2 separate regions of the Homo sapiens genome follow, and region 1 is linked to region 2. The links are contacts of gene promoters, found by promoter capture Hi-C in blood cells and fetal thymus (Javierre and others, 2016). All regions are on one chromosome and are shown on one strand. The core of a region is centred on a gene start or on the middle of the fragment in contact, and the rest is flanking DNA. Distances in the headings are between cores, read along the strand shown. Region 1 has its middle 33 kb from the start of NPL. Region 2 holds the start of RGSL1 (regulator of G protein signaling like 1).

Region 1 (2,872 bases), core at 56-2,555, 310 kb after region 2:
TGGCTCTAAGGAAAAGAACTAGAAAAACATGACAGAAGTGCATATACATATTATAAACTTTCTATCAATTCAAATGGTTTTTAAATGGAAATTTATGGGCTGTTTGAAAAGATAGTGCATTCCCTCTCTCAGGCAGGGCTGACTCCTCCATTAGACATAGGAGGCAAGTGTCTGGGGCCCATGATGCTTTTAGGGGCCCATAAAAATGTTTTACTTTTAATTTTTTTAAGCCAAAGGAAACATAAATATAATAATGAATATGTAATAATAAATCCAGCCTGGATTACAGGTGATTTTATGCCAATGCAGTCATAAAATATAATTTTAGATACTTTTTTTTTTTCTTGACATGGAGTCTCGCTCTGTAGCCCAAGCTGGAGTGCAGTGGCGCAATCTCAGCTCACTGCAAGCTCCGCCTCCCGGGTTCAAGCAATTGTTCTGCCTCAGCCTCCTGAGTAGCTGGAACTACAGGCATGTGCCACCATGCCAGCTAATTTTTTGTATTTTTAGTAGAGACCAGGTTTCACTGTGTTAGCCAGGATGGTCTCGATCTCCTGACCTCGTGATCCACCCATCTCGGCCCATGGAGCAAAAGCAGAACTGCTGGGGTTCCAAGAAAGTCATAATGTGGCCCTGACTGGATGTGATCATGGGGATAAAGAATGAAGATGGAAAACTCTAAGATTCCTTGCAGATTTGAGTCAATGTTTCTTTAAGATTCTATGACAATGCTCTGCTATCTATATTCCCTAGCTATAAAGTCACACCTGCAAACACTCACTTTCTGCTTGTCTCACATCTTCACACATAGACTAACATTGCTTATCATTGGCCATAAATCAGCAGTTTACAAACCACCCCTAGAATCTACCTCTGCCTTCTCCCTGTTTGCTTCCAAAATAAAGAAGTTATTATTGGCTGGGCACAGTGGCTCATGCCTGTAGTCCCAGCACTTTGGGAGGCCAAGGACAGTGGATTGCTTCAGTCCAGGAGTTCAGGACCAGCCCGGGCAACATTGTGAAAATTTTTGTACAAAAAGTACAAAAATTAGCCAGATGTGGTTGCACGCACCTGTAGTCCTAGGAGGCTGAGGTAGGAGGATTGCTTGAGCCTGGGAGGTCGAGGCTGCAGTGAGCTGTGATCATACCACTGCACTCCAGCCTGAGTGACAGAGTGAGACCCTGCCTCATTAAAAAAAAAAAAAAAGGAAGGAAAGAAAGAAAAAAAGAAAAGAAAAGAAATTATTGTTTTTATTCCTACAAAATACATTTGATTCCAGATATTGCGAAAATTTTGCAGACATTTCCTCATTAATATATACATCTCCTTGTTGAAGGAAGTGGAGTTTTTGTTTTATTCTTATTTTTAAGGTTGGAAATAAAGCCAAGAAAAGATTAAATGAGAGCTGTGCTTTAAAACTCAGTGGGAGAGGCTGGGTACAGTGGCTCATGCCTGTAATCCCAGCACTTTGGGAGGCCAAGGTGGGCAGATTGCCTAAGGTCAGGAGTTCAAGACCAGCCTGGCCAACATGGTGAAACCCCGTCTCTACTAAAAATATAAAAATTAGCCGAGCATGGTGGCAGTCACCTGTAATCCCAGCTACTTAGGAGGCTGACGCAGGAGAGTCACTTGAACCTGGGAGGCAGAGGTTACAGTGAGCTGAGATGGCACCACTGCACTCCAGCCTAAGCGACAGAGCGAGACTTCACCTCAAAAAAAAAAAAAAAAAAACTCAGTGTGAGAGAAAAACATTACTAAGTCTATGGCTATGATTATTATTATTATTATAGTTATCAGTGGAAAACATACATCCAGCACTCATAAATAACAAAGGCAGTGATTCTCAATTGGTACAAACTGGAACTCCTTATGTAGCATTAAACAGATGCCTAGGCCCTACCCCAAACCTTCCCTCTCAGAATACTCAGAGAACAGAGCTCCAGCCCTGTGTTTTGAAAAAACTCCCACCATTATGAGGGCTTAAAACCACTGTGTCATGGCATGGAGAAGAATATTGCAGAATCTCAGGAAGGAGAAAGTTCCAAGGAGGGAACGGTTTGGTGTCTGAGGCTGCAGAGAGATGGAGTAATATAAAAATGGGAAAAAGTCCTTCGAACCTGGGGGAACATTGGTGACTTTGGTGAGAATAGTCACCCTGGGTCATGAGGGTAAAAACCATACTACAAAGATTGCTTACTCTTATACACAGTTAGATATTTGAGGGATCATAAAATTAAGACACGAATGGAAGATTAAAAAATAGACAGGGAATATAGACTTAAACAGGGGTACATGTGGACACACAGAGTGGAATAACAGACATGGAGACTCCAAAAGATGAGAAGGCTGGGAGGAGGGCGAGGAGTAAAAAATTACACATTTTGTACAATGTAAACTATTCAGGGGATGGGTACACTAAAAGGCCAGATTTTACCACTATGCAGTATACCATGTAACAAAGCTGCACTTGTACCCTCTAAATTTATAAAAATACATTTTGTAAAATAGGGGTTTTAATCTGGGGTCCTCAGATTCCTCCTACACCCCATCCTCCATTCCCCTCCAAGGGACCCATGGATAGAAGTCAGGGAATCGGCCAGGCGTGGTGGCTCACACCTGTAATCCCAGCATTTTGGGAGGCCGAGGTGGGCAGATCACAAGGCCAGGAGATCGAGACCATCCTGGCCAACATGGTGAAACCCCATCTCTACTAAAAATACAAAAATTAGCTGGGTGTGGTGGCGCATGCCTGTAATCCCAGCTACTCAGGAGGTTGAGGCAGGAGAATCACTTGAACCAGGGAGTCGGAGGTTGCAGTGAGCGGAGATCACCCCACTGCACTCCAGCGTGGGCGACAGAGTGAGACGCTATC
Region 2 (2,700 bases), core at 157-2,656:
AAAGGGTCAGGGATCTAACCATTATGCATTTCAAGATTTAGCCAGTGATACTGGCTTTTCATCTTTACTGTTTTTAGAGTGACCCTATTTGGTTGTTAATGGCTCCAACAGTCAGCCTTTTTGAACTGTGGGAAAGACGGTGGGGCAGCAATTAGGACTCAAGGGTAGGTGCACACAGCTTGATTGAAAACAGTCTGAAAGCATTCCATCTTAAGGAATGTGAGCATATATTACTACTGTATATGCCATTATTTTAGGAGGAGACCTTGACTCTATTTATTTTGCAAAAGAGGTGATAATTCAAGGAATAATATGATATTGTAGAATCATGCAGTGCTTCACACTGAACTCTCTTAAGATGTGTGCATGTTAAACTGACTAATTAATAAGGTGAATAAGGTAATTGATAACAGATTGAAGAAGTATGGTAAGCTACAATCTCATCTTGCAATACATAGAACATCAAGATGTAAAGCAAGAATCTCTTCTCACTAAAATCACTTTAAAATGCAGTATTTGGTCTTTATATATTCTAAAGAAAGTACAGCACTTTTTCAAATGTAAGTGATATTGTATTGACGATTCATTATTAACAATAATCCTTCCAGTTTTCAGTTTTCCCTCCACCCCCCATAGGAAAGCCTTTTGGACATTATATAAGCTTCCCTACAATCCCAAGACTTAAAAGCCCTCTCTGGGTGTGACACTGAAGAATTCTATTCTCAGTAATTCTTGGCTAAAGTTTGAAGGATTATAGGGCTTTTGGTCTCTCATCTTAATATTTACTTCCTATTAGGGAAGAACAGGAGAAATGAAGAGTTGTTTAATGAGAAAACCAAGAGCCTGAAGAGTCTTCAGAGGAAGGGAGTTCAAACCTCTTGGAAGCTGATGTTTTAATTTTAATTTTTTAAAGATGAGGTTTCACTCTGTTGCCCAAGCTGAAGTTCAGTGGTGTGATCACAGCTCACAGCAGCCTTGAATTCCTGGGCTGAAGCAATGGAGGTTGATGTTTTAAATGGGCAGAATATCCAGGAGTTACTGCTTATTAAAATTACATCAAATGTAACCGTTTACAAGACCCTTAGGAGCTGAGTTTAGCAATGCAAAAGTCACCCTAGCATGGGAGAGGTTGGAGCAGACAAGAGATCTTGGGCACAATTATAAAGAACTTGTCAAATAAAATAGTATGAACTAAAGGCTTAAGTATAGGAGGAGTCTTGTATGTCCAAGGGGATTCAGCAGATTAGGTAAGATAAAGACTTATCTTCAGATTAAGGCCTACACCAGAGGTAAGTAGATCACTGCCAGATAGAATCTGGAACCCCTTAGAGAAGGTGTCATTACGTGTTCACAATGGATATAGTTCTATTGACTGGGGGGTAATTCTGCCCCTAACAAATTACTGTGTCAGGAAGAGCATGGCAACATGAGCAGTGCTGGTGAGTCTCTGCCAGGGATGTCTCCAAGGCCTTGAGTCTCTCAAATAAGGCAAACCATTCATCTTCCCAATTGTTAATAGATCTGAGCCATTCAGGGGCACCATGGGTGACTTTTGTGTTATTCATGCCTTTGTTTTCCTTCTCTTTCTCCTTCTTCCCCTTCCTCCTACCTTCTGCCACCAGATCTTTGAGGATAGTACAGGGCCTTATTCATAAGACAACTAAGGCAAGAGGGAGGAAGTAAAATGTGGATTGGGCCACCTCTCCTCCAGAGAGAAGACTGGTATGGGGTTTGAGATTATGCAGTGATTTCATTTGTTGCCAAGTCAATATTATTATGGCGTGGAATGGGTGCTAAAAGCCTTCTCAAATTATTAGGAAGTTTGAAGGCAGAACAGGTAAGAAGGAAAAACAAGAATGGAGAAATGAGAGGATGAGGAAGGGAAGGATGTACAGAGCCTTGTCTCTATATCTCCTTAAGACTGTTTTGGCAATGGCAAGCCCTAGCATAGTCAGGCCCCTTGCCACCAGCGGTGTGTGTAGCTGTGAACAACAATCACTAGGGAATTTCTGCCAAACCCCACTTTTCTGTATTCAGATGGGCTCAGTAATATACTCATTCAACAAATCCATGTTAGACTCTATGAATGATAAACAAACAAAAGTCCAAAAGATTGAAAATCATTGGCTGGGAGCGTTGGCTCACCCTTGTAATCCTAGTACTTTGGGAGGCTGAGGCAGGTGGATTACCTGAGGTCAGGAGTTCAAGACCAGCCTGGCCAACATGGTAAAACCCCATCTCTACTGAAAATACAGAAATTAGCCAGGTGTGGTGGCATGCACTGTAATCCCAGCTACTGGAGAGGTTGAGACACAAGAATCACTTGAATCTGGGAGGCAGAGTCTGCAGTGAGTTGAGATCTTGCCACTGCATTCCAGCCTGGGTGACGGAGTGAGACTTTGGCAAAAAAAAAAAAAAAAAAAGATTGAAGATTATCTTTTGAAAGAACAATTTATTCCACATTTACAGAACTTAGACATTGTGCAAACACTTTTAGAGCCTAGAGGAAGAAAGGTGAAAAAACAAAGTCCCTCCTCTCACACGCTCAGTCTGATGAGGAAGACAGATATATCGATGGATAAAAACAGTCAGACTTGTTAATTGTAATAATGGAGGATATACGTGATGGTATAGGGAGATAGTGATGAATTCTACCATTGCAGTAGATTCTACCTTTCTTGGCTCACCAAGATTATATGT

Evidence for each region. Contacts are between HindIII fragments. The CHiCAGO score rates a contact against its expected background, and 5 or more counts as called.
Region 1: a fragment that was not itself captured here is called in contact with the fragment with the promoter of RGSL1 in region 2 in 4 of 17 cell types (M1 macrophages, M2 macrophages, M0 macrophages and 1 more); the score reaches 8.2 in M1 macrophages.

Annotation. Positions count from the first base shown.
Region 1 is chr1:182,755,830-182,758,701 of GRCh38, forward strand. No RefSeq gene overlaps it. Among named protein-coding and RNA genes, the nearest start is that of NPL, 33 kb to the right of the region's middle. The HindIII fragment of the contact is 5,923 bases long and covers 1-2,872 here.
Region 2 is chr1:182,448,740-182,451,439 of GRCh38, forward strand. RGSL1 (regulator of G protein signaling like 1) reads left to right here and starts at 1,407. Exons shown (of 22, transcript NM_001137669.2): 1 at 1,407-1,439. The coding sequence starts at 1,427. RefSeq lists an enhancer at 1,245-1,852. The HindIII fragment of the contact is 4,233 bases long and covers 660-2,700 here.